Regions from separate parts of the Homo sapiens genome. Here regions 2, 3, 4, 5, 6 and 7 are each linked to region 1. The links are contacts of gene promoters, found by promoter capture Hi-C in blood cells and fetal thymus (Javierre and others, 2016). All regions are on one chromosome and are shown on one strand. Each heading gives the region's core, a stretch centred on a gene start or on the middle of the fragment in contact. The rest is flanking DNA. Distances are from core to core; before and after follow the strand shown. Region 1 holds the start of SFMBT2 (Scm like with four mbt domains 2). Region 2 overlaps PRKCQ (protein kinase C theta). Region 3 has its middle 38 kb from the start of LINC02648. Region 4 has its middle 59 kb from the start of LINP1. Region 5 has its middle 24 kb from the start of LINP1. Region 6 has its middle 7.1 kb from the start of LINP1. Region 7 holds the start of LINC00706 (long intergenic non-protein coding RNA 706).

Region 1 (3,966 bases), core at 766-3,265:
ACCCCTCGAGGACAGTGGTGCGCCGACGGGTCTCTCGGCCCCTCCCTTTCCACAGGCCCCGCTGTGTGGTGAAGGAGCCAGAAGAGGCGACTTGGGTGTTGAGACCCGGGGCCAAACCGTGGAGAGTGTCTGGAGCCCACACTCCAGATTTCTGGACGCCGCAGTCAGTCCAGCAGGTTCTACCTGGAGCCGCCTCGGGGCTCAACCGGGAGGCAGCGGGGTGCAGGCGAGAGGGTTAATGCGCCCGGTTCGGTTGGTTTGAGGAGTCTCTGCTTTCAGCGACCCACAGGGCAGAGAGCCCAGGGCTCCGGCTTGATGTCCCCAACAGCTGGGGACTGGAGAGCTGGAGGGGTCGCAGACTCAGGCTAGAGTTTAAAGTGCGCCGCGCGGCGAGTCGCTGGACTCTTCTGGGTCTCACGTGGCTCCTGTGTCACATGGAGTGACAGGCCGGCGGAAGGCGCTTTAGTCGTCGCCCAGCGTTCTCCAAGGTGTAAGGAGGCAGGATCTTCCCATACTGGCGGCGCAGGGGGCCTCACGGCTGCGGACGCCCGCCCTGGATCTCTCAGCTCGGCAGATCCTTTGGGTGGAGAGGCGCTCTCCAGGGTCGCGGCGAAGGAGAGCGGCTTCTCGGCACGTCCCTCCGTATTTCTTCTAGATCAGCTCCGGCCCCACCGTCCAGGAGAGGGCCCGCCTGAGGACCTCTGTCTGTGCCGCGCGTGGTCAGCCCCGGTCCCCTCACTCCATGGCTGGCCCCTAGCCCTTCAGAGCGGACACCTCTCCTTAGGGATGCAGGGCGAGGAAGGGCGGGTGGAGCTGCGAACCCACGGGGACCTGGAGGACCTCTTGGCCCCCTGGAGAGGGGTACTATGAGAGGGATTCATGGGACACAGATTTGGGGGACTGGGTAATTTTACCCCCTTTGGCAACCATAAAAACCCTGAGCAAACGTGTCCATTCGCTATTTCGCAGAAATATACAATGCAGGCCCACACAGGCATCTCTGCGAGGCCCCCTAGTTAAGGGCGCAGCGTTCTTCGGAAGCTCTTGGTCTTGCTACCAGGGCGTCACCGGCTTTTCCGCACTGGGGACATTTCGTTTGGGCTCTGCGCAGCCGTTGCACCTAAGGCCCTGGGAGCTCCGCGTTCCTCCCCAGGCGCCCGGGACAAAGTGCCCGAGGGCTCCGCAGACGTCCAGCCCTGCCCGGGGCTCACGGCCGCCGGGGCTCTCCAACGGACCGTCGAGGGCCACGTTTTGCTGGGGTGTGAGCGACGATTCTTTTCCCGCCCTATGAGGCCCGCCACTAGCTAGGTGCCCCATGAGACGCCGTGGCGAGCACGGCTACCTGGCAGCTCGCCCGGGCAGCCCCAACTTAATTTCCTGCCCCTCGGGGCACCTTTCCCTCGAATAGCTCTCCTCGGCCCCTCCAGCCCTGCCCAAGGGGCCTGGAAATGTTCGCAGCTTCAAGAAAGGCTCTATTTAAGCACAGGATGGGGTGGGGCGGGCGGGGCCAAGATTGCCCTGGGGATTGAATTTATCTCCGCTCCCAGCGATCCCCGGCGGATAAAGCGCAAGTTTGTGCACACGGTCGACTGAGCCATTGGAAACCCAGCTCACGAACCGCAGCCAGGGAAACGGGAGTTTGCCCAGTTGTCCTTGCGGAGGGGTGTGCGGAAACGCCCGCGATGGGAACTTTCTGCAGATCATGTATGGAGGGAGCTCACAAAAAGGAGGAAGGGGAGCGCGGTGGGGAGGAGGCCGCGTGGGCGTGGAAGGTCCCAGGGTCCTGGGGGTGCCCGCCTGCTTAGGCGCAGGGAATGGCGCGGAGCTGGCTGGGGAAGGAGCCGATCACGTCCCGCAGGCTAATTGGCTTAAGAAATTTTGCAAGCGCTGGAAAAGGTCGTTGAAGGAGTTCGCTGCACGCGCACGCACACACATACACACACACACAAAATCTTAAAAAAAAAAAAAAAAAAAAAAAAAAAAGAGCGCCGAGCATGCGCACAGAGAGGATGCCATATTGGAATGAGCTGTAGTGGGAGCCGGAGGACCGGAGCGGGCGCGCGAGGGAGGCGGCGGGCGGGGAGCGAGCGGGCAAGGGCGGGCGAGCGAGCAAGCGAGCGAGGCCGGTGCCCTCCCGGGCGGCGACCGGGGCCTGGGTCCACGCCGAGGGCAGGACGAACTTCACCAGGTAGGACGCCGCGCCGGCTGCTGTCCCCGGCGCCCAGGCTGGCCGGAGAGCAGCCCTTCGGCCCGCAGGTTGAGTGCGCTGGTCAGGGGCTTTTTCCAGCCTAGGAAAAAAAAGGAAAAAAAAAAAAAGGAAGGAAGCCTGAGGGAGCTGGGGTTGGAGGTGGCGGGTGGGGGAAGGCTGGGGAGGGTGCAGGGGAGCGAAAGAGAAGGGCAGGAGAAGAAAGCGACTGCACTTGAGCGAAGCTTCAAACTCCTCTGTGCGCTCCAGGTTGTCATTTTTGCTTCCCGGGTCCCCTTCGCCTGCGTCTCCGGGCTCGGAAAAGCCGAGCCGTGCGGGAGTCCGTCCGGAGTTGCAAAGTGTCCTCCTTCCCCGGGCGCAGCCTGTCCCCTCCCGCCGCCCACCTTCCTCGTTTCTGCACTCATTTTAGCGACGCAGCCGCCGCTGCTACCTACCCCGCGCTCCCGCGTCTCCTCCGCGCTGGGGTCTCCCCTTTCTTTTGGTTTGGGTGGGAGAAAAAGATGGTGAGGACGGGGAATCGGAGACCGGCATGGGGGTAAAAATCGTGCAGACATTCGGAATCGCTCCCTTGGAAACATTTGCCTGAGCAACTGAAATAAAATTGGCAGTAGTAGTTTTGGAGCGTGCTCCAGCGAGGATGGTCTTTTTGTTCATTATTTTCTCTTTAAAGTAATATCCTGTCACTTAGGGGCTTTCCGGTTGTCTCCTCTTATTCGACCCCCTTTCAAAATTGCTGACTTGAGCTGGTTCTGGAGTTTATTTTTTAATATGCGTGCGTGGGTATGTGTATGTGTGTGTATGTTTTGCAGAAATCCGCCAAAATGCAACTGTAGGAACTGCGAGATGTATTTATTGATTTTGACCAGGGGCGGTGGGAAGGGGCTGGAGGGAGCTGGGGGATCCTGGAGGGTGGGAAGTGGCTGATTCTCGGTGGCCGGACACTCATCCAGAGCCTGATCCGTACTCGTGTTTTCTTGGAAGCGCCACAACTGCGGGGAAGGAGTCTTTAGAAACCGTGCCAGTTTCAATATGGCGGGCTAAGGTGGCTTTTAAAAACTGAAAATAAAGGTTTTGAGGTGGGAAAAAACCCAGCTGAAGTTTCCACCCCTTAGTTTCGACTCTCTTTGGCTACCCCAGGAAGCGCTTTAGCGAATTAAGTGGGGAAAAAAAGAAGGAATGGGCTGTCCGGTTTTTTTTTTCCGTGGTTAGAGTCTGTGTGTCAAGTCCATTGCTAGGGGGGAAAGGGATGGAGAAGTGCCCCTGGCCCGGACCAGGGCACCGAAACGCAACTGTCGTGTGTGCCTGTGGATTAGTGTGCAGGCCTGCGTGTGCGCAGTTTTTTTGGGTGTGTGTGTCAAAGAGAACCACCCCGAATGTGTGTGTGCGTCTTGGAACCAGACCCTGCCATGATTTGACGTGACAAACTGCGGACACGTGGTGTAAAGTACATGAGGGCAGAGGGAGTGATTTATTTTGTCTTTCTAGGAGACGAGCTAGCTCTCGCCTTGTGTGTGCTGGATCCTGCGCGGGTAGATCCCCGAGTAGGTGGGGCGAGGAGGTGCTTATTAAAAGGACTAACTGTCCCGGGTATTGGGTGCAATCGGGCTGCAGACGCCAGCCGGATTTCGTGTGTGCAGGGGGCGCGCTGCACTTAATAGTGGGCTCCTGCTTTCCTCCACGCCGCTCTGGGGTGGGAGGTGGGGGACCGGGACCGAAGCTTGGAGAAGACCAAAGTGGTGGTGGTGGTGGTGGGGTGGGGC
Region 2 (3,966 bases), core at 789-3,288, 840 kb after region 1:
CCCAGCTAACTTTTGTATTTTTAGTAGAGATGGGGTTTCACCATGTTGGCCAAGATGGTCTCGATCTCTTGACCTCATGATCCACCCACCTTGGCCTCCCAAAGTGCTGAGATTACAGGCGTGAGCCACCGCACCTGGGCTTTTTTAAAAATCTTCTTTATAGTAGCCTTTCTAATTGGTGTAAGGTGCTGATAGTTAACTTTTTACCCAATCATTGAATGCCCAATGGCAGGGATCTCTGGGCTGATGCTACTCCTGAGTTCATTGTTTATTTCCTATCCCAGCTTGAGCATATACACCTTTTTCTAGTGTAGAATTAATGGAGGAAATACAACTCACACAGCACCTGAGGGACTAGGGAAGCCATGGAAAGGACAGTCCCTAAAACATAAACAGAATGTCCCGGTAGGTAGGGTTATCTCCACCTCCATGAGGAACCTTATGATTCAGAAATGAGTAGTTGTTGAGAATAAAGTGAACATGGCATCAGTGTTAATAACCCTGAATGTGTGGGACAGATGCTTTTTAGAAGATTAGTTACAGATATAATTATCTTTTGTATGTTATCAGAGCAGGACAAGTTCCCAGGACAATGGAGAGAATGGAAAGGGAAACTGCTATTGAATTCACCAGGCCTTTGTTGCAAGCCTCAGATCACACACCGTGCTGCAAAACCCACAGGGAGATGTGGTCAGGCAAATAGGAAATTATAATGAATTGTGATGAATTCATGAGATATTTGTACTATTTTGTATCAGTTTATAATGTCATGCAACTCTGTTTTATATTTGCTAGTTTCCTTTCTGTCTCTTTTTTCCTCTAGCATGAAACTCCATGAGGGCTGGCATTTTGTCCCTACATGTGTCCCCAGCCACTCTAACAGGGCCTGACACATACCAAGTTGTGAACAAATATGTGCAGAATGATTGTGTGTTTCAGTAGGGGACACACTTGGTATTATGTGCACAGCTAGATTTGGGGTGTCGCAGAGCTGTCAGTGACGGCTCAACTGAGACCTGAAGGGGAAGTGGCAGTGAGCCAGATGGGGGTTCTGGGAGGTAGGAACAGTGTTTGTAGAATGTCCCTGCAGCATGTGAGTCTGGAATCCCAGTGCAGTCCAGTCTAAGCCTTGCAGATGAGTGGAAATGAGCAGAGTAAGCATCACAGCTTCCATTTAAACCTCTGCTCCCCATCCTAATTTGCCATATGACCTTAACCAGTGAACTTCTTGGAGTGTCATTCTCTCCATTTGCAAAGTGAAGAAAATTGTGATCTCTGATAGCAGTGATGCTGCGAGAAAGGAGCATGTGCCAGTGTGTGGGCTATTGCTGGGTGGAGCTGGAGGAGTCAGCTGTGCCAGATCACATAGGACCTGTAAGCAGGTGAACCATATACGTTATCCTCCAGATGGGGACTGTTTATAGAGTGAAAGAGCACGTTATTAATCACTAAGCTTGGGTAACAGGTACAAACCCAGATTGTCCTGGGCAGACTGTCCCGTAGAGTTGTCCTGCGTTAAGTCATACGAAGGAGTTTGATCCTTTTCTAAGAACAGGAGGAACCCTTTAAATGCTTTATCTACCAATGTATACAAGTGCCATTCAGGTTCTCTCCAGCGTTTCAGAGAGTTTTACCTGCCCATGAACTCACAGCACTCGGCTTGCACTGCAAACTCACCTATACGTTGGCAGCTGTCTCCTCACTGGGCACTTAATTCATGAACAACTAGGAGGGAAAGACAACAAGACAGCCAGGGGTCTGCTCTTTGGCTCTTTGCATTTTTTTTTACGGGGTCTTGCTCTGTCGCCCAGGCTGGAGTGCAGTGGCACGATCTCAGCTCACAGCAGCCTCCGCCTCTGAGGCTCAAGGGATCCTCCGGCCTCAGCCTCCTGAGTAGCTGGGACTACAGTTGCATGCCACCATGGCCTGGCTAGTTTGTGCACTTTGTAGAGATGGTGTTTTGTCATGTTGCCCAGGCTAGTCTCTAACTCCTGGGCTCAAGTGATCTGCCCGCCTTGGCCTCCCAGAGTGCTGAGATTAAAGACATGAGCCACCACACCTGGCCTAGCTCTTTTCGCCTTTAACTGGAGTGTTAGCTGATATCAAGAACACATCTTTTGGGTTTTTCTTTTTTTAACCTTGTAACACCTAAAGGACTGCGGCTAAGTGTTAAAAGAAAAAAATTTCTATCTGGTGGTTTAAATATCTGCAGAAGCAGAATCCTTGTCATCCTGAAATTTTTTCCCTGTGGGCAAGAATTCCTAATAAGCGTACAATCTATTGGAAAAATCAAAAAGTAAACAAACTATGGCAATATATTCTAACATGTATTGACTTGTCACTATCGGCCGTTTGCTGTGCTAAGCACTATATGTAGATGATTGCTTGGGTGCTTTGAGAACATGTAGAAGGGAACCAAGTCCTGATTCGGAGGTTCAGGAAAGGCTTTCAGAGGACAAGGTATCGCGGGTGGGGATGGAAGATGTATGGGAATTAGCCAAAAGGACAGGGGTTCAGAGGTGAGCCAAGTCTGTCCTGAAAGTAAGCAGAAATGTTGTTGTTCTTGTCGTTTTGAGAGAAGTTCATCTCAGCTGTGTTCAGCATTTTTAGGGCATAAGCTTCAACATTTTCCGTTCTGTTTTCACTGATATGTTTTAGCTATACAAAAGCAGGCCTTCTACACAGTTTTTCAAACTCCAAGACACAGTCTACTAGTGGGCAATGACATTAATTTTGGGGGTGATAACAAGCATGAAATAGAATAAAACAGAAAATATTAAGATGCATTTCATGTAGGAAGGGTAATTATTTCATGAAACTGTATCATTTGGTTTGGGACACATTAAATCTGTTCGTACCTAAAAGAAGACATTCATGCAGCCAACAAACATGGAAAAAAAACCCTCAATATCACTGATCATTAGAGAAATGCAAATCAAAACCACAATCAGTTACCATCTCCTGCAAGTCAGAATGGTGATTATTAAAAAATCAAGAAACAACAGGTGCTGGCAAAGTTGCAGAGAAATAGGAACGCTTTTACACTCTTGGTGGTGGGAATGTAAATTAGTCCAACCATTGTGGAAGATGGTGTGGCAATTCCTCAAAGATCTAGAACCAGAAATACCGTTTGACTCAGCACTCCTGTTACTGGGCATATATCCAAAGGAATATAAACCATTCTGTTATAAAGATACATGCACACGTATGTTCATTACAGCACTATTCACAATAGCAAAGACATGGCATCAACCCAAATGCCCACCAATGGTAGTCTGGATTAAGAAAATGTACATACACACCATAGAATACTATGTAGCCATAAAAAGGAATGAGATCCCTGTCCTTTGCAGGGACATGGATAGAGCTGGAAGCCATCATCCTCAGCAAACTAACACAGGAGCAGAAAACTGGACACCTTATGTTCTCACTTATAAGTGGGAGCTGAATAATGAGAACATGTGGACACAGGGAGGGGAACAACACACACTGGGGCCTGTCGGGAGGTGGGATTGGAGGGAGGGAGAGCATTAGGAAAAGTAGCTAATGCATGTGGGGCTTAATACCTAGGTGATGGGATGATAGGTGCAGCAAACCACCATGGCACGTTTACCCATGTAACAAACCTGCACGTCCTGCACCTGTATCCCAGAACTTAAAATAAAAATAAAAATTAAAGAAAATTACATACCTATGGCATTTAGTTTTCTATACCATTCCTTTAAGTCATAGAATCAGATGAGCTCAGGGGCTAGAAGGAAGAGGGAGCGATGGGAAGGCAGTCGTTGGTCATGCCCTGGGCCTGGATCGCGGGAATCAGTCATTCAGAAAGCCCCATATGTTGGGTGGGTCTCACAGCTTACAGAGAAGCCAGCTGAGGTGTGCAGGTTAAGAAACTTGATCTAGGGTCACAGATTAAATTACTAGCGCTGACCCCTGATCTCTTGGCTTCTGATGTGGTGGTAT
Region 3 (3,966 bases), core at 800-3,299, 750 kb after region 1:
AGGACCTAGGGCAAAGCAGGGTGTATGGAATGACTACTAGAATATATGAAGCTTCTTTTTGGATAATGAGCTTGTTCTGAATTCCATAAGGGCGATAGTTCACACCTGTGTGAATATACTAAAAACCACTGTGGGGGTGGTTGTGGGGCTACTGCAGTCTTCTCTATTCAACAGATGATAAAATGGAGGTACTAGATATTAGGCAATTTATGCTAAGTCACAAAAGTAGTAAGTGATAAAAATGGGATTCAAACCTAGACACTCTGTCTCCAGCATCCAAACTTTTAACTACTATGTCATGTGGAACTTGCAAAAGTCTCTTTCCTAGCAAAATTCAACTAACAAACCAAACAGGTGATATCTTGTTTCCTTTTTAGCTGGAGACAATGATATAAAGCAGAGATATTTGTACCATTTTTGTAGATTAGGTGATATACCCAGATATTCTGTAAGATTACAATGACATATAATGAAACCTATAAGTACCTTTACAGAAATTGCCTCTCATCAGATCATTTGGTTCCATCTTTGCCATATGTAAAATCTTCTACTATAATGGCACAGGAATAAGACTTTTTCCGCAGAGACTTTACCAGTGTGGACTTGTCATTTTCTGTTTCACAATGTTACTCAAGCCCTTGGTGTTTACCTTCCTTGTTTATAACACAGGGATAATAGTGGTATCCCCTTAGAGGACTGGAATTAACACAATACGCTTAGGCTACTGCCATGAACATAGTGCTCCTTCATAAGTGCTAGCTATCGTAGTAATAATTAATATTATGCTCATACCGATACCATAAACTAATCATCACTTTCCTCATAATTCTTGTTAATATAGGCAATATGAGAAAATAAATAACTTAAATGAGAATATGATCAATGTTCACCAGCCACTACAACCATTGCAAGAATAGCTAGTAACTCACGGACTGGGTGGATGGAGAGTGAACTACACAAATAAGGTGAGGACACAAGGAGAGAAGTATTCTGCTGAATTAGCAGATATTTTCCCTAAGTGAAAATTTTGGAAATGGATGGAAACTATAACCAGTTGAATTTTCAGAGTAGGATTGTGAGGCTGAGTAACATTTTCCAAACATTTTTAATCCATATTTGGTTGAATCCACAGATGTGAAATCCACAGATATGGAGGATGACTGTGTGTTTAAATAGAATAAATATGTTAATTAGTTGGATTTATTTATTTATTTTTTAATTCTCAGATGGTACTTGGACTGGGTCACTGGTCACTAGCTTAATTTTTGATACCTAGGGAAATTTTCTCACACAGGCACAAGACTGTAAAGAAGTCAGTGTTTATCCTCAGATGCAACACCAATTCCACTTAGCAGAAGGTCCCTGGATTTCAAAAGAAGGAAATGAAGTATCTTGGTTTGATGAGGGGAAGTCACCGACTATAAGAAGGATGCCAAGTATTTTGGATTGATAAGCAGAAGTTGATGAAGAAAACAGAACGAATTCAGAAGAACTATGATCTTGTCCTGTGGTTTTTCTCTGACTTTATAAAGACCTAGGCTTCATATCTTTGCTTCTATGGAGACCAGATGCCTCATTTCCAACATGAAGGGCTTGATCAGTTGATCTCTGTGTTCCTTTCTCAGAGGTCTAATGTTCTACAATTAAATGCCAGTCAAGTCAAGAGCAGGCATCTCAGATTCTTCAGAATAACCACCATGAAAGGAAAAGAATGGAGAGAAGAAGAGGAGTGACTGAAGGAATAAACATTCTGCTTTCTGAAAGGGCTGAAGACACTTGACAACATAGCAATTAATAAAAGGACAAAAGAGATCTGGGAGCAGAGTTTTCATGTTTGAGTAGACGGACTCAGCAGGAGGGTTAAAAGATGGACAAGGTGGGCAAGTCACCAATGAGAAATGTAAGGTGGGGGGGTGGGTATGGTGTTGTGCAAAGGGCATGGGATTTGGGTCCTAAAACCTGTTTGAAGTCATTCACTAATTTATATAACTGTGGGTAAGCCACCCATGTTTCTGAGCCTTATTTCCTCATATGTAAAGTGTGAACAATATTTGTACTAGATTCCCGAGGATTCACATAGGATCCTTCAAATGATACATAATAGTAAATTAATTAATATATCCTGCACCTAGTTTCTGCCCACAAATTTCTTTTTGGATGCAATCTACAAAAACACAGAGTTATCTTTATCCCTCGAGTTTTGTCCCTGAAGTTATCCCTGGAGTCTGGCAGAGAGGCACAACAAAGGTCATCTCCTAATCCCTTCCCTTCTCTGTCCAGAAGTCTACAAAATCCCCCTCAAAACCTACAAATATTGTAAAGCCTTACCAGTAAAACCTACTGTGATAAATAGAAGCCACACAATTTACTCATATAAAATGCAAGTTCACATTATATGAGCTAAATGAAATGAACTCAGTAGCCTTCAGAGTATTCCACTGAGGGTTCTGATCTGTCCCAACAAAAATCCCAGCTGTACTTTGGCACACATGGTGAGTGTTACCTTCTCCTGCTTAAATATTGATGGAGATGATTCTGGGCTCTGTGGCTCAGCAGCTCCAGGGATCTTCTGTTCATTTGCATCTTGAGAAGATTGGGCCAGGAGACTATGGTGGCTGGGAGGATACATCCTCCTCCTGCCCTCTTTCCAAGATGGGCTTGTCTGTTTCATCCTTCCCTCCACATTCCCCTCCTAGGTCAGAAGATAAGAACTTTCGGAATCATTCTCCCCATTTAAGAATGGGGGCTTGGCAAGGAAGAGATCCAATCACTAATTTTAATGTGATATTGGGATATTTTACTGTAACTCCCAAATCTGAAAAGCATCCTATCAATGAGTGTTTGTGTTATCTACTATTTTAACTGATAAGGGCTGAATTCTGTCTCCCCAAAATTCATACGTTGAAGTCCTAACCCCCAGTACCTCAGTATTTGGAGACAGCACCTTTATAGAGGTCATTAAGTCCAAATGAGGCCAGTTAGGATGTGTCCTGATCCAATATGACTTGTGAATTTATAAGGAAAGGAGATCAGGACACACAGAGGGATGCCAGAAATGCACACAGAGAAAAGACCATATGAGGTCCCAGGGAGAAGGTGGCCATCTGCAAGCCAAGAAGGGAGGCTTCAGGAGAAACCAACCCTGCCAGCACCTTGATCTTGAACTTCCAGACTCTAGAATAGTGAGAAAATAAATTTCTGTTGTGTAAGCCATCCGGCCTGTGGTATTTCGTCATGGCAGGCCTGCATCAGTCCATGTTTGCATAGCTATAAAGAAATACCTGAGACTGGATAATTTGTAAAGAAAAAAGGTTTTGTTGGTTCACAGTTCTGCAGGCTGTCCAGGAACCACGGCACCAGCATCTCTTCCTGCTGAGGCTCCGAAAAGTTCCAGTCATGACAGAAGGTAGAGGGAGAGCTGGTGTATCACATGGCAATAGCAGGAGCAAGGGGTGGGGGAAGATGCCAGGCTCTTCTCAATAACCAGATTGCACATGAACTAACAGAGCAAGAACTCACTCATTGCAATGCGGATGGCCCAAGCCATTCATGAGGAGTCCACCCTCATGACACAAACACCTCTCACCAGGCTCCACCTCCAACATTGGGGATTACATTTCAACATGAGATTTGGAGGGGACAAACATTCAAACCATATCACAGCCCCGGTGGACTAATATATTAACCAAGTGATAATGGTAACCTCTAGTGAGGGAAATGGACAAAATGGAGAAAGAAACCCACATTGCTGAGTCTTATGCACCTTCTCCTTCCCTATTCCTTAAATAATGGAGGCTAACTCTTCCCGATGGGAGTTAAGGCTCAGAGAAACACACTGATTTGAAGAAATTATTCAAAGCTCAGGACAGCCTTTCTGCACAGGAATGGTTACAATAGGCCATTCTATCAGTTATCTATTACTGCTTAACAGAGTGCCCCAAACTGAGCAACTAAAGCAACAAGTGT
Region 4 (3,966 bases), core at 394-2,893, 730 kb after region 1:
GTAAAGCTTTAGTAGCTGAATGACAACTAAATTGCTGTCGGGGTGGTTTAGCACAAAACAAGCCACTACTGTTCTCTGTTAAAACAGTTCCTGAGATTTGCAAGCCAAGGAATCCAAAATCACCCAAGCAGTCAACATGACTTAAAGATTTTCCAGTAGTTTCAGGGCCCATTAAATTTATGTAATATCTACAATATCAACTATGAAAAAAATGTTTTGTATTCATGGATAAAATGTAAGTGGCTACTTCTCCAGAAAAGAGTATATGTCTTTTCTACCAGAAACTTCAGCTTTTTGAAGCAATGGAGAGTTTCACAGTGGGGGGGTCTGGCGGCATGGGACATCTTAAACTGGTTATTTCAAAGGTATTTTTTTCTTTCTCAATGTGATCATGGCACTAGACTTTAGATATAAATCATAAGAAGCACATGTCGAATTTGACATTGGTAAACAAAAGTAACCATTGAGCCCCTAGGAGTTAGAACATTTTCTTGGCAGGTTAAAGGTAAAAATGTGTTCTTTAAAAGAAAGATCCAGATGAAAGTATTTGTCATTAAACTTTCACTATTTCTCTCTCTCTCCACACACACACACACACACACACAGTTATCGATCTATCGCTTCTTCTATCAAGTGTATTTCTGAGAAATAGTCTAAGAATATCTAGCTTAGCAATTCTTTTCAGTAATGAAGCTTGTGTAGAAGAAGAGGTATGTGTGATGTGAATTCTAGACTATTCTAGAAGACTATGAGCTTTTTTCTGAATTTCAAGAAATCTTGCTATCTTTTCTTGATGAAATTAACCTATATACCACTACCCTGTATTTTCTGTGGAGCTAAGATAATAAGGTCCTCAAGTTTTCATTTCCCAATAATTTTTCTAATTTCTTTTGTTTCATTTTGATGCCAGGACCCACGAGACTGAGAGAATTAGCTATTGAACTTTTCAGAGAGCTCAGTTGTTTTTGTTTTTGCTCAAGTTGTTTTCCCCCATCACCTAGAAGGCATTTAGACCATCCCTTCCCCTCAGCTATGCCCACATTTCTGACTCTCTAAACAGGTGGATATTCCAGAAGTGTAAACCCGTCTTAATGGCCCAATAATTCTCTAGATGTGTGGACGCAGAGGGAACAGAGAAGGGTCATATGCTTCCTAAATTCAGGACTAGCCATGTGACTTTTCCTTATGGTGTCTTGATTTGATTATATAAATAAAACAAGCGGAAAATCCAGAAAGCTTTTCTCCAAGCCACACTTTCATAGTGTAAATATCAGGCCTTAAGCAGAATGAGATGCTCACAAAATGTCAGATCTATTTATGGGAGGAGTTTTTAGGGTAAATAGAGCAAAATGAACACTCAGATGACTGGCAAGGAAATAAAGCATTGTAGGACCTACATAGTTCAGATGGCACTTTAAGTGGCCAGGAGATGGTGCCAATTTGCCAAACATTTAAGTGGTTATAATTTCAGGCTGTGAAAAATAATATCTTCTCTTTTAACTCAAGAGGGCCAGTACTTTTATGGTGTTTATTATACCCAAGGGACAACTAATTTCATAAAACCTAAGGTAGGAATGAAGAAAAGACAAAAAAAAAGTCAAGAAAAGAAAGAAAACAAGAAAACAAAGAATGAAAAGGAAAATAAATAAGATAAAGAGTATAAAATGTGGAAAAATAAAATATAAAGAAATGTAAGGATGAAAGAGAGGATAATTGTAAAGTTGCCTCTGAAATCTGAAAGAGCGTGATCCCCTATCTGTGCAGAACAGAGTTGAAGAAACAGAACAATTGTGACTAATTCTTATTATGATTATGCACATTCAAAATGCCGAAGATAAAAACTACATAATTTCAAACACTTTTTCTGTTTCAGAGTTTTGCTGAAAGTTCCTTAGGCATTTGTGTCTATGAGCAATTCCAAAATTCTATGTTGCAATATAATAAGCTCAGAATTTTGTATATGGCAGGGGTGTTAGGAAAGATTTGATCTGAACTCCTCATTGTGCAGATAAAGAAACTAAGGAAGATTTTCCCAGGTCCAGAAGCTTGTTTTCCCTTCATTTCCATGCAACAGGAACAAAGGAGAATGTGGGCAGATAAAGAAACTAAGGAAGATTTTCCCAGGTCCAAAAGCCTGTTTTCCCTTCATTTCAACGCAACGGGAACAAATGAGAGTGTGGTAATGGAGCCAGAAGGGGGCGCATGATGATCGCTGATGACGAATTTTGACGGTGCAATCTGGATGTTAATTTCGCTGACCTTGAAGTCAGGGTGGCCTACTTGCAGCATTGTTCTATATAACTTCAGCCTCAAATTGAAAACCATACATATTTCGTGGTAGGCATCTTGCTTTTAGAAATTTGATGTAGGGAGGGACAACTTCATGGATTTCTAAAGCAAGGTTTGTTTTACAGGCCCAATTTCTTCCTTTCCCAAGCCAACTAATCAAACATGCTTTTGAATGTATTTGCTGGATTCCAAAATATTTCAGACACTTATTTATAAAGGAATGATTTTAAAATAGGATCCAATTTTTGTTCTGTAAATGTTTAAACTGAATATTTCCTAAGACCATCGGCTTGTTTTCAATGAATTTTTTTGCAAAGGGAATGTTTAAAGTGTTTTTAAAACCTCAGAGTTAAATCATTTTCAAAACTTGTTTCCTGGGAAAGTTTTATTTGTTAGTACCCAAAGTTTTTCTACACATTGCATAAGCTGACCAATTCTTCTCCACATATACCAGGCTAAGAGAAGTGAATAAAAAGGCCATCACAGTGTCCATTTTTTCCATGACAAAAATAACACATGCTCAAAAAAGTTTAAAAATGTAGAACTATAAAAATTAGAAAAATGTTCTTTATAACAATCACTATCAACATTTAGCTATATTTTCTTTAGGGGCCTTTTTAAAAAAACAATTCTCCAACCTCCACTGTTTGTCTAAAATTGTCATAAAAGAATTTTATTATTATTATTACACTTTAAGTTCTAGGGTACGTGTGCGCAAGGTGCAGGCTTGTTACATATGTATACATGTGCCATGTTGGTGTGCTGCACCCATTAACTCGTCATTTACATTAGATATATCTCCTAATGCTATCCCTCCCCATTTCCCCCACCCCACGACAGGCCCCGATGTGTGACGTTCCCTACCCTGTGTCCAAGTGTTCTCATTGTTCAATTCCCACCTAAGAGTGAGAATATGTGGTGTTTGGTTTTCTGTCCTTGCAATAGTTTGCTCAGAATGATGGTTTCTAGCTTCATCCATGTCTCTACAAAGGACATGAACTCATCCTTTTTTATGGCTGCATAGTATTCCATGGTGTATATGTGCCACATTTTCTTAATCCAGTCTATCATTGATGGACATTTGGGTTGGTTCCAAGTCTTTGCTATTGTGAATAGTGCCACTATAAACATACGTGTGTATGTGTTTTTATAGCAGCATGATTTATAATCCTTTGGGTATATGCCCAGTAATCAGATGGCTGTCAAATGGTATTTCTAGTTCTAGATCCTTGAGGAATCGCCACACTGTCCTCCACAATGGTTGAACTAGTTTACAGTCCCACCAACAGTGTAAAAGTGTTCCTATTTCTCCACATCCTCTCCTGCACCTGTTGTTTCCTGAATTTTTAATGATGGCCATTCTAACTGGTATGAGATGGTATCTCATTGTGGTTTTGATTTGCATTTCTCTGATGGCCAGTGATGATGAGCATTTTTTCTTGTGTCTGTTGGCTGCATAAATGTCTTCTTTTAAGAAGTGTCTGTTCATATCCTTTGCCCACTTTTTGATGGGGTTCTTTGATTTTTTTTCTTGTAAATTTGTTTAAGTTATTTGTAGATTCTGGATATTAGCCATTTGTCAGATGGGTAGATTGTAAAAATTGTCTCCCATTCTGTAGGTTTCCTGTTCACTCTGATGGAAGTTTCTTTTGCTGTGCAGAAGCTCTTTAGTTGAAT
Region 5 (3,966 bases), core at 837-3,336, 700 kb after region 1:
CTGTCTTTAGGCTAAGCATTCAAGAAGCCCTTCATGTCAAGCAAGCCTCAGCTTGGACAATTTGATACGCTTTTTTTTTCTTTCCTTTTTTTTTTCTTTTTTTTTTGAGATGTAGTCTTAACCTGTTGCCCAGGCTGGAGTGCAGTGGCGCAATCTCAGCTCACTGCAACCTCCACCTCTGGGTTCAAGTGATTCTTGTGCCTCCGCCTCCCAAGTAGCTGGGACTACAGACATGCACCACCATGCCCGGCTAATTTTTGTATTTTTAGTAGAGATGGGGTTTCGCCATGTTGGCCAGGCTGGTCTCAAACTTCCAACCTCTGGTGATCCGCCTGCCTCGGCCTCCTGAAGTGCTGGGATTATAGGTGTGAGCCACTGTGCTTGGCCTTTTTTTTTTTCTTGACAGAGTCTCACTCTGTCACCCAGGCTGGAGTGCAATGTTGCAATCTCAGCTCACTGCAACCTCTGCCACCCAGGTTCCAGAAATTCTCTCACCTCAGCCTCCCGAGTAGCTGGGATTACAGATGTCCACCACCACGCCCAGGTAATTTTTTTGTATTTTTAGTAGAGACAGAGGTTCACCATGTTGGCAAGGCTGAGAGGCTGAGGCGGGAGGATCACCTGAAGTCAGGAGTTGATAAGCTATTTTTTATTGCACCTGTGTATGGCACACTACCATGGCCACCCACTCAGTATACACAAGACTGCAGTGTTTCAAAGACACCGAGCAAATTGAGGTTCCCACAGATCTCCTGAGAGCTGATCAAAATTAAAATTCTCATTTCTGGGCTAGCAGGCTTTCTTTTGTTCCCAGGTAAGTCTTGGAATTTTCTGGAGAACTTCTGACAGGAGAACTTCTTGGCAAATGACCATTTTGTTCAAAAAATAAACTAGAGCTATTTTTTCTTCTATGGCATGCAAGAAACAAGTTGCCATAAAGAGAGCAAGAGCTTACCCTGGTTAAATCAAGGACGTTGGGGAAGGTGTCATCTCTGTGTCAATACCATGGCTTGGGCGTCAGAGACTCGACCAGGGAATTCCGTATATCCATGTTTTGCGGTAAGAACAAACACGAGACTAAAGTGTACATTCTTGTTTCTTCATTTAATAGCTTTTTAAGGTAGGTAAATTAACTGGACAGGTGCCTGAGTTTTTTTACACCAGTTAAAAGAAAATAATAATATCCACCAACAGGGCTGTCCTGAGAACAAATGTGCTGTGTAGACTGTAAAGTCACATTTACAACTAAGGTATTAAAATCCTTCCTCAGGCCGGGTGCAGTGCCTCACACCTGTAATCTTAGCACTTTGGGAGGCCTGGGCAGGCAGATCACCTGTGGTCAGGAGTTCGAGACCAGCCTGGCCAGCATGGTGAAACCCCATCTCTACTAAATATACAAAAATTAGCCAGGCTTGGTGGCATGCACCTGTAATCCCAGCTATTCAGGTAGCTGAGGCATGAGAATCGCTTGAGCCTGGGAGAAGGAGGCTGCAGTGAGACAAGACTGCACTACTGCACTCCAGCCTGGGCAACAGGAGTGAAACCCTGTCTCTCAAAATAAAATAAAATAAAATAAAATCCTTCCTCAAAATAGCTAATGGATGCTAGGCTTAATACCTGGGTGATGGGGTGATCTGTGCAGCCAACCACCATGGCACATTTATCTATGTAACAAACCTGCGCATCCTGCACATGTACCCCGGAACTTCAAATAAAAGTTGAAGGGTGGAAAAAAACCACTTCCTCGTTCTGGTCAAAATAGTGATGGAGAGAGTTAAGGGACCAGGTTCAACACATTCGTCCGGAAAACATCTCGACCCAGAAACTTCCTTTCATTGGCTGGGAGCTGTCCGAGGTGCTCTGGTTGAAGCTTCATGAGTTACTTCAAGACCTCCCTCACAGTAGTGCTGCCATTTAACAGTGTAGGCAAAAGGGCCACAACCTTGGTTTGAGTTATTCAGTCTCTACCCAGGTAATCTTTGGCAAGTTACTTCATGCCTCTAATCCCCTTTTGCTGGTAATTGTTTTACCATTAATGTCTCTGATCCCCATTTGCAGACATGGCTGGTAATACCTACCTTAAAGTACTGCTGAGAGGGAGAAATGAAAAGGCTTGGTATAAACCAAGGATTTGGTAAATATTCTGCCTTCATTATTACAAGAAAGATGAAAAAGAGAGGACAGATCTCCTGCCACAACTTCCACATTGGCAAAAATGACCCTGCATCCCACTGTTTTTATGGATAAAGGGGATGGGATCAGAGCCAGAGGTCTTTCCATGGACCTTGTGAGTCAAAGCTTCCCACAGAGTGGAACGAAGTTGCTGCCTGTATTTTCTTCCCTACACACGATTCACCAGTGCTTTAGATCTTCAGGGGCAACTCTAAGCTCTTGCTCCCTGTAGTGTGCTCAACTTCTAGGGCAGAACCATGGAGAGGGCTTCTTCCCTTCTTTCCGAAACTGTGTGGTAACCCCGTAAATGTGGGGACACATTTAATCAGTGTAGAAGCCCTCTTAGTGGCTATTTGGAGTAAAATGGAAAGGGGGCTGGGCTTGGTGGCTCACACCTATAATCCCAGCACTTTGGAAGGCCGAGGCAGGCAGATCACTTGAGGTTAGGAGTTCGAGACCAGCCTGGCCAACATGGTGAAACCTCATCTCTAATAAAAGTACAAAAATTAGTCTGGCGTGCTGGTGCGTGCCTGTAATCCCAGCTACTTGGAAGGCTGAGACAGGATAATCACTAGAACCCAGGAGGCGAAGATTACAGTAAGCCAAGATTGCACCACTGCACTCAAAAAAAAAAAAAAAAAAAGAAGAAGAAGAAGAAGAAGAAGGGTCTGCACACTTGAGAATAACAATATACGTGGGAAAATTAACACACGGATGGGCTCTAGCTATGGAATAAATTCCAGTTAAAATCTCTTCAATGTATCTAGGAAGCACACCCTAGAAAGATAGACTTTTCTGTACTAACCTTCTTTTTAATACTAACTTGGGTAGCAAAGATCCACTGCAGATGAATTAAGAAGGGAAGGTCTACAGTGAATGAACATCTTCAGCCTGGAAAGCCGCTGGAACGATCCTAGAATTAAAAAGCCAGCCTCCAGGGCAAACCACACCTAAGCCATTAGGAGTAAATGAGGGAAGAGTGCGGAAACAAGAGCAGAATTCAGCTCTCCTGGCTCTCAGCCCCTCTTCTGACCACTGAAATGAATTTCCCTTCAACCACAGAATAAAAAATAATTGGATTTCTCTAAGTCTTATTAAGGTGTAACTTGCAGTTCAGAAGAACCTGTATGTTTAACTTTATTCCTCGTCCAACCCAGAGGGACTAAAATGAAATAAAAGACTAAGACAACAATGCTGGAGCTGGGAGCTCGCTGCACCCCCTCCTCTCCCTGCACCCCTTTCCCTTCCCAGCACCCCTTTCCCCTCCCTGGACCCCCCTCTCCTCCTAGCACCCTCCTCCCCTCCCCACACCCTCCTCGTCTCCACGCACCCCCTTCCCCTCCCCGCATCCCCCTCTCCTCCCCGCACCCTCCTCCCCTCCCCGCATCCCCTTCCCCTTCTGCACCCTCCTCCCCTCCTCTCACCCCCCTCCCCTCCCTGCGCTGTAATTGCGCTTCGGTAGCAGATAAAGGGACGGAGAACACTGCAGCGCCGCCTGAATACAAAACCAAGGCCTCCTCTCCTCCTCCCATAATTAATCTTTTCTGCGTTCCGCAAGGACCATCCTCTGCAGTGTTCAGCATTTGGCTGGGACTTTGACGTTTTGTTATCGCCATCACTCTCTTTGTTTTTTGGAAAAGAAGAAAAACCCATCCGTGGCACATGGACCCTACACGGGGGCAGCATCCCATGTAAAATTCATGTAGCTCTCTTCCTCTAGCCACCTGAGCATCCTTTCATCCCTAAAGAACCCGGGAAAGGCAATGCCAAGCTGTATTCTTTCCTAGATGGCAG
Region 6 (3,966 bases), core at 504-3,003, 680 kb after region 1:
TTTTAGCCTGGACTAGAGGAGAGCCATGTTTTCATTTTTCAACAAAGGATAGAGTCCTAAATCCTGTCATTTGCAACAACATGGATGGGCCTAGAGGATGTTGTGCTAAGTAAAGCAAGCTGGCACAGAAAGACAAATACCACAGGGTCTCACCAACATGTGGAATCTAAAAAAGTCCAATTCAGAAGGACTCAGGTGGGTGCCAGAGGCTGTGGGGAAGAGATGGAGATAAAGAGATGTTGGTCAAAGTGTGCAGAGTTTTTGTTAAAAGGAGTAAGTTTTTGAGCTCTATGGCATATCGTGGTGACCATAGTTAATGATAATGTAATGTACATTTCAAAATTGCTAAAAGGGTAGATTTTAAATGTTTGTACCATAAAACAAAAGCATGTGAGTTTCTGGATATGTTAATTAGTGGGATTTAATCATTCCAAAATATACACATATATCAAAACATCATGTATATAATATATGCAATTATTATTTATGAATTAGAAATAAAATTTTCAGAAAACGGACAGAGTCCCGGGCAGGTCACTCTCTCAGCATGCAGAGAGGAGAGGCACCGTCAACGTCTGACCTTGATGGACCTTGAGGTCCCATCCATCCTTGTCTGAAGAGAAGGTGAGGCTCACAGGGCTCTCCGTATTCATCAGCCTCAGGTAAGACTTGTTTTTTTGTTTGTTTGTTTGTTTGTTGAAACAGAATCTCGTTCTGTTGCCTAGGCTAGAGTGCAGTGGCATGATCTCAGCTCACTGCAACCTCTCCCTTCTGGGTTCAAGCAATTCTCCTGCCTCAGCCTCTCCTGAGTAGCTGGAACTACAAGCATGCACCACCAGACCTGACTAATTTTTGTATTTTTAGTAGAGACGACGTTTCTTCATGTTGGCCAGGGTGGTCACAAACTCCTGACCTCAGGTGATCCGCCCACCTCAGCCTCCCAAAGTGCTGGGATTACAGGCGTGAGCCACCGTGCCCAGCTGGTAAGATGCTTCTTAAGGCAGAGAGAGACGAGGCAAAGGGCAAGGCAGTGGAATCAGGAGCAAGGTCTCTAGCGCCTTTCTGGACTGCATCAGTGACATCAGAGAAAGAAAACAAACTTCTGCCCATGCCAGGGAGCAAATAGGACCTCACATCACGGCCTCCGTGTTATCATGAGCTGGCCTGATGCTTCCAGCTAAGCCACGTGCTCTCCAGTTGGACAGAAATAATTTCCGAGAATGTCCACTCAGGCCAGATCATGCTAAATCCCACACATCTTCCACTCTTGCTAAGTAAGCAACTGCTGCATCTTTCCCAGTTCCAGCTTTGGTCTCCCTCTAGTCTGTCCTCCCTAGAGATGACAGATGTATTCAGATACCCCCTCACAGAATCACCCCTGGCCTCTGGCAACTCCCGACTAGAGAAAACCTCTGCTTCCTTAGACCCTCCCGAAAATCACCCAACCAAAGCCCAAGCCTGGTAGTAGGTCATTCCCAACATCTTCTTACTCTGAGACTTCCTGCAGTTCCCAAGCTGTGTGTGCTGTCTCACTGCAACTTGTAATAAACCCAACTTGTTCAACTACAGGTGTGTACCTGGTGGCTTTCGGCCACAGGGCAAGTGGTCAGTATGAGCTAAGTACCGTTCTCCAAGCTTGTTGAAATATTCTTTGCTGACTGACTACTGAACACTATCTATATCTGGAACCCCAAGCTATCTCAGGCCATACACAAGGTCAGGATCATGAGGTGATTCCACCCCTTCTGCTGCTGTTGTCCTCTGTCAATCACCTGCATCCAAAGCCATCTCCCGCATCACCAGTCAGGGATTTCCACAGCAAGCACATGTTCAATGAGCATCTACAGGCTAAGCTCCGGGCTAAAGCTTATGGAGAAAAGCCTTGCCCCTATATAATTTTGATTACCCACCAAGTACTAAATGTGGTGTGGACATAGTACACTTCTCATGTGGTCCCGAAAGCTTCCATCTGCAGAAAGTACAAGACGAACACATTCTAATAAACAGGAAGCTATGAACCAGCTACATCATCCATCAGCTCTTTCTTATCAGGGAATTGGCAGGATACATTAACAAAAGGGTAATTATTTATTAATGGTTACTTGAAACCTGGGCTTTCCACACCCGATTTCAAAACACACAGGGCCATTTATTTGAAGTGGTTTCCGGACTTTGATGGATTGAATATTCGCCCGTGCTGGCAAAGGCATACACACAGTGATGCTAACTAGAGTAACTATAGAAACTATCCTATCCTGATACAGCCTTAGAACATCTCTGAACAATCATCCGCATAAAGGAAACATCAAGGGAATAGAAAAACCATCTGGTCTCTATAGCTAGAACATTTGAACAGCTTGTAAAGGGAAAGAAATTGAAACCTCACAACAAAAAATCTGGCAGATGATAAACACAAGATTTTTGAGTTTATCAGCCAGTTGCTACAGACCAAGATCAATATACAAAGAAAGGACATGCTCATAACCCAGGACCTCCGACTGGAATGAAAAGACAGGCAGAAAAACCTGAAAGGTTTGAGGCTGATTACAGTTATACTACCCCGAGCCCACTACTCACAGAAAGCTATTTATTTTCTTTACAGATGATGGAAAATTCCAAACAGAATAAAATTATACAGAATGTTGCAAGAAAAAGCATTTCTTTGGGTGTTTCTAGCTCAGCTGCAAACAGGAGGTAGTGAAGTCCCACGAGGAAGGTGTGCTCTGTTGAAATGTCTAAGTCGATTGTGCAGTTTTGAAAGTCACTGCCAATCCAGAGATGATTTCAACCCAAGTTCTTTCGTGAAATAATAATTCCCAGCTCCTAAATAATTCCCAGCTCCTAAATCCCAGATCTGACTCTTTCTAAATGTGTCTTTTTCCTGTCTCTTCTTGCTCACCTCTTCTGTAGCCACAGGCAGTTTTCAGCCAACAGTTTGACTTCAACAAAGTCAGCAGCATCCTGAGTCAAACCTGGCTAGAGTCCCTCTACTCAGAGCAGTGTTGCATGGGTGTGTCACACAGATGTGCACAGTCACCCAGACCACAGGGCTTCTCTGGAATCTGGACGGGAACTTGGCTAGGGCTTGACCTGCTTCGGTTCACCACCTCTCTGCCTAGCCCTTTTCTATGGAATTTCCATCTGCTTCTCTACAGCAATGACTTGAAAACTGGCAACATAAGATACTAGCAACTCATTACTGAATAGGGCATTTTAATGTCTTTCAAAGTCCTTCTAAAGCCATTTAATGTGTGTGTTTAGGCATCTCTCCCAAAATAGAATGTCCTATTTTGGCTCCCCTTTTTTTTTCTCTACCTCCTAATCCCATCACCCAAAGGGAACCACTGTTAGTAGTTTTATGTGAGTCTGTTTATGGTCATCAAACATCTACTTAAGTTTCAAACCAAAATTATGTCATATCTTTTGTCATGTTCTACAACCTGCTATCTTACTTTACAATGTTATGAATGTCTTTGTAATACATTAATTGCAGGTGTACTTAAAGGTTGCACTGCTGTCCATTGCATCAAGATACCCTCAGATGTCCATTCAGTCTCCTAATTCCTCTCGATGATACAGTGTTGCAATCAACAGCTTTGAACGTGAAAGAAAATGCAATGTCCTAGTATGCTTGTAATTGTCTTATCTCCAAGATGTTGAGATAAATGTAGATAGTTTCACCTACCTACGGCCCTATTGCCTTCTCCCAGACATGAGCACCTCCCACTTAAGTACGAGGCTGAGCTTGGGAATAACTGCCTTTTACCCCCACATGTAATTGAGCACCAAGGGCCATCTTTTCTTGCTTTTCAATACTTCCCAAATGAATCCACTCTTTTTCTGTCTCTCCTCCCATCTTAAGCAACTACCATCTCTTACCTGGGTTACAACACCATCTGCAATGTGGACCTCTCTATTCCTCTTATGTGACTGTAATCCAGCCACATGGTGATACTGATCATACTC
Region 7 (3,966 bases), core at 833-3,332, 630 kb after region 1:
ATCATCAATCGCTTCCCACTGTTCACTTAAAGCATAATCAATTTATTACTTTCTCCAAATAAGATAAGCCTAAACCAACCGGCAATTCCAACTCAGGTTCTTTATTTATTTCTTGTACCAGTTTATAAACTTAAAGATTAGCAGAGATGCCCTGACTTGACCGGATGGTCCCGGTTTCCTGTGATGATCAACAGTCCTTGAAAGAGAAAGGACTTACCACTGTGGATTTAAGGGAAAAAATAGTTCAAAACAATGGATATTGTTTAACTTCTCATACTAAGATGTAATTTACATTGTCAGGAAACCTAGATTCTCTCTCTCTGTTCTTCTTTCAGTTTCCTATGGTCTTCTCTGTGTGCAAATGACTGGCAAGCCTAGGAAAGGTACCAGCCTTGCGTTAACTTAACCCTTGGCTCTGCCTCAGCCTTCTTAATTAGGAATGAGTATACTACAAAGGTGGGTAAGAAATGAAGTGGTGATGGCTGGTGGGGCTACTCAGTGAAGGCACAATCATGTCTTCCCCAGTGCTTTCTTCAAGGTCATAGAAGGACCCAAACACTAAACCAATCTTCTTCTTCAGGTGTTTCTCAGGGCTGGTGGTTCTTGGCAACTATGAGTTGCAGTTGGCCTCAAAGCCCTAAGATGCACCTGTTGCGTGTATGTATTTCAGGTTGAATCTCATACATGACAGATTCTGGAAGGCTTAACAAAGTCAGTGCTGGATAAAGGCAGCATGATGATACTGACTTTTCTGAAATTTTTTGTTGGTTATGGCCAATAATTAATATAAACCGTTCTCTTGCATTTAAGCCTGACTTAACTACTTCTGAGTTTTATTGTGGGATATAAAAATTAAAAATATTGTATTAGCATTCTCTAGAAGGACAGGACTAATAGGATAGATGCATATATGAAAGGGAGTTTATTAAGGAGTATTGACTCACATGATCACAAGGTGAGGTCCCACAACAGGCCATCTGCAAGTTGAGGAGCAAGAAAGCCAGTAAAGTCCCAAAACCTCAAAAGTAGGAAAGCTGATAATGCAGCCCTCAGTCTGTAGCCGAAGGCCTGAGAGCCCCTGGCAAACCACTCGGGGGGTAGGTCCAAGAGTCCAAAAGCTGAAGAACCTGGAGTCTGATGTTTGAGGGCAGGAGGCATCCAACACAGGGGAAAGATGAAGGTCAGAAGACTCAGGCAGTCTAGTCCTTCCACGTTCCTCTGCCTGCTTTATTTTAGCCACACTGGCAGCTGAGCTGGCAGCTGGGTGCCCACCCAGATTGAGGGTGGGTCTGCCTCTCCCAGTCCAGTGACTCAAGTGTTAATCTCCTTTGGCAACACCCTCACAGACACCCCGGGGCAATACATTGCATCCTTCAATCCAATCAAGTTGACACTCAATATTAACCATCACAAATAGTAAGCAAAAATGATAATTTTTACCATTATTATCTCAAAATTATGAAAGCTTTTATCTATAGCACTTCCAGTTTTTTAAAAGTGAGATTCATAAGACTGTGTTTACCCACCACACTGAATGCTACTGTCATGACTTGGCATGAAAAATAGCCACCCACTCAGAGTCCAGGAACACTGTGCCCTCCCCTGTGACGTCAACCTGCCTGGTTTATTCAGTGTGTGGCTGTTGCTCAGCATTCACCCAACAACATTTTTGATGCATGATGCATATGGTGCTAAATGCTGGGAATGCAAACCTGAGTAAGGTATTGTCCTAATTCCTGCCTAACGGTTTTCTGGGTTTCACTGGCTATGATTTCTGATCCCTCCCTCCCTCCCTCCCTCCCTCCTTCCCTCCCTCTCTTCCTTCCTTCCTTCCTCCCTCCCTCTCTCCTTCCTTTCTTCCATTTTTTTCTTCCTTCCTCCCTCTCTTCTTCCTTCCATTTCCTTCTTTCCCTCCCTCCTTCCCTGCCTTCCTTCCTTCCTTCTTCATTCTCTCCCTCCCTCCCACCCTCTTTCTTTCTTCCTTCCTTCCTTCATCACTCCCTCCCTCCTTCCTTCCTTCCTTTCTTCCTTCCTTCCTCCCTCTCTCCTTCCTTCCTTCCATTTCCTTCTTTCCTTCCTTCCCTCCCTCCCTTCCCTCCTTCCTTTCTTCCTTCTCTCTCTCCCTCCCCCCCCCCACCTACCTTCCTTCCTTCCTTCCTTCCTTTCTTCCTTTCTTCCTTCCCTCCCTTGTTTCTTAACCATTGCTTGTTAAGGGATGGCTCTGCACTGAATTCTGGTAATCACCGTGCTTTTCTTTTACTAAAGGTGGAACACAGGGGTGAATCGTTTAGGGCAACTAAGGGTATGTGGGAGAGGTTGATGCTTTCCCTCTCACAGGTGAGTCTCAAGCCTCCAAGGAAATGACAGAAATGCTTACAGATGGTTTTAGGCAGTGGTGCCTTATGGGGGGGTAAGTTTTTGCTTTCTTTTCCTAAGAAAAGAACAATCCAATCTGATTGCTTCCCAGTGTTTTGGAATTGGATTTGTGTTTTGCAGTGATGAACCTGGCCTTAAGGTAGGTGCGGGGTGAGCCCATTAGAGATAAAAGGTAAAACCAGAAATCCAGTGGACAGCCATCTGAAACCCGTTCAGCCTGAAGCACTTTTTTCTAGACTCAAGAGCATCGTTGTATCAATAGAAAAGGGCAAAGATGGTGAAACAAAGTCATGTATATCCATCCATGTGCTTTCTCAAGCTTTTTATGGGTATTTTCTACAACTTAGATGTGCCTTGTCCTCACCAAAACCCATGTGGAAGTTTCATTGCAAGAGACAGTGTTGGGAAGTGGGGCCCAGTGGGAGGTGTTTGGGTCATAGGGGTGGATTCCTCACGATAAATTGGTGCCGTTCTCAGGATAGTGAGTGAGTTCTTACTCTTGCAAGACTGGATTAGTTCTTGCAGAGATGGATTAGTTCCCTCAAGAGTAGGTTGGTATAAAACATGTCACCCTCCTTGGTCCCTTCCTTTTCACACATGCCTACCCCAGTTTTGACCTTCTGTTATGTTATGACACAGCAGGAAAGCCCTGGCCAGAAGCCAGCGCCATGCCCTTGAAATTTCCCACCTGCAGAACCATGAGCTCAATAGACCTCATTTCTTTCTAAACGACCCAGTCTCAGATACTCTGTTATAGCAACACTAAATTGACTAAGACAGTGTTATTTTGTAGAAGTAATGTAATCCCTCTGAAAAGAACATGGGATTCAGAGAAAAATGCCACAGCTCTTAGTCCAGTTTTGCCATGACCTAGTAGAATGAGATTGCTGATGCTAAAAATGTTGAAATAAAATCATAGTATAAAGGTCCTAAAACCACACCTGGCACGAAGTAGGCCCTGCACGAATGTTTGCTTTAGCTATGTGTTTTCTCACAAAGTAAATCTAAACTTTACTGAATTGCTGGGCGTGGTGGCTCACACCTGGAATGCCAGCACTTTGAGAGGCTGAGGTGGGTGGACCAACTGAGGTCAGGAGTTTGAGACCAGACTGACTAACACGGTGAAACCCCATCTCTACTAAAAATACAAAATTAGCCAGGTGTGGTGGTGTGCACCTGTAATCCCAGCTACTCGGGAGGCTGAGGCAGGAGAATCTCTTCAACCCAGGAGGCAGAGGTTGCAGTGAGCCAAGATCATGCCACTGCACTCCAGCCTGGCGACAGAGCAAAACTCCATCTCAAAAAATAAACAAACAAATAAATAAGAAAAAAATAAACTTTACTGAATCAATTTGTGTTCCTGTAAAGTGGAGAGAGAAATAAGTCCCCACTTGCCTGAGCAAAACACTTTGAAGATTAATTAAAGTAATGCATGGTAGTATATATGAAACCAGGATTCTTTGCTCACACAACATCCAAGAAGTACCAGTCTACAAAACAGATAGCCACGGGCTCTGCACACCGCTACCCCATTGCTGCTTGCTGCTTCCCACTGCCCATTCCTATTGTCACACCACAAGGGTAGAGGGG

What was found. Contacts are between HindIII fragments. The CHiCAGO score rates a contact against its expected background, and 5 or more counts as called.
Region 2: a contact is called between a fragment that was not itself captured here and the fragment with the promoter of SFMBT2 in region 1, in 1 of 17 cell types (neutrophils). The highest score is 6.1, in neutrophils.
Region 3: a fragment that was not itself captured here is called in contact with the fragment with the promoter of SFMBT2 in region 1 in 2 of 17 cell types (M0 macrophages and M2 macrophages); the score reaches 7.7 in M0 macrophages.
Region 4: a fragment that was not itself captured here is called in contact with the fragment with the promoter of SFMBT2 in region 1 in 8 of 17 cell types (M2 macrophages, endothelial precursors, total CD8 T cells and 5 more); the score reaches 13.1 in M2 macrophages.
Region 5: a contact is called between a fragment that was not itself captured here and the fragment with the promoter of SFMBT2 in region 1, in 1 of 17 cell types (endothelial precursors). The highest score is 5.4, in endothelial precursors.
Region 6: a fragment that was not itself captured here is called in contact with the fragment with the promoter of SFMBT2 in region 1 in 1 of 17 cell types (endothelial precursors); the score reaches 6.1 in endothelial precursors.
Region 7: a fragment that was not itself captured here is called in contact with the fragment with the promoter of SFMBT2 in region 1 in 1 of 17 cell types (erythroblasts); the score reaches 5.1 in erythroblasts.

The regions. Positions count from the first base shown.
Region 1 is chr10:7,409,083-7,413,048 of GRCh38, reverse strand. It overlaps SFMBT2 (Scm like with four mbt domains 2), which reads left to right and starts at 2,015. Exons shown (of 21, transcript NM_001387889.1): 1 at 2,015-2,188. RefSeq lists enhancers at 1-845, 846-1,766 and a silencer at 2,002-2,141. The HindIII fragment of the contact is 4,872 bases long and covers 1-2,432 here.
Region 2 is chr10:6,571,934-6,575,899 of GRCh38, reverse strand. The region is part of intron 1 of PRKCQ (protein kinase C theta); the gene reads left to right. Among named protein-coding and RNA genes, the nearest start is that of PRKCQ, 6.4 kb to the left of the region's middle. RefSeq lists an enhancer at 3,721-3,890. The HindIII fragment of the contact is 1,165 bases long and covers 1,456-2,620 here.
Region 3 is chr10:6,654,900-6,658,865 of GRCh38, reverse strand. No RefSeq gene overlaps it. Among named protein-coding and RNA genes, the nearest start is that of LINC02648, 38 kb to the right of the region's middle. The HindIII fragment of the contact is 3,991 bases long and covers 54-3,966 here.
Region 4 is chr10:6,676,615-6,680,580 of GRCh38, reverse strand. No RefSeq gene overlaps it. Among named protein-coding and RNA genes, the nearest start is that of LINP1, 59 kb to the left of the region's middle. RefSeq lists a silencer at 2,132-2,290 and an enhancer at 1,950-2,451. The HindIII fragment of the contact is 809 bases long and covers 1,239-2,047 here.
Region 5 is chr10:6,711,780-6,715,745 of GRCh38, reverse strand. No RefSeq gene overlaps it. Among named protein-coding and RNA genes, the nearest start is that of LINP1, 24 kb to the left of the region's middle. The HindIII fragment of the contact is 428 bases long and covers 1,873-2,300 here.
Region 6 is chr10:6,728,321-6,732,286 of GRCh38, reverse strand. No RefSeq gene overlaps it. Among named protein-coding and RNA genes, the nearest start is that of LINP1, 7.1 kb to the left of the region's middle. The HindIII fragment of the contact is 231 bases long and covers 1,638-1,868 here.
Region 7 is chr10:6,776,866-6,780,831 of GRCh38, reverse strand. LINC00706 (long intergenic non-protein coding RNA 706) reads left to right here and starts at 1,652. Exons shown (of 2, transcript NR_108074.1): 1 at 1,652-1,721. LINC00707 (long intergenic non-protein coding RNA 707) reads right to left here and starts at 1,234. Exons shown (of 5, transcript NR_038291.1): 1 at 945-1,234. The HindIII fragment of the contact is 1,230 bases long and covers 1,468-2,697 here.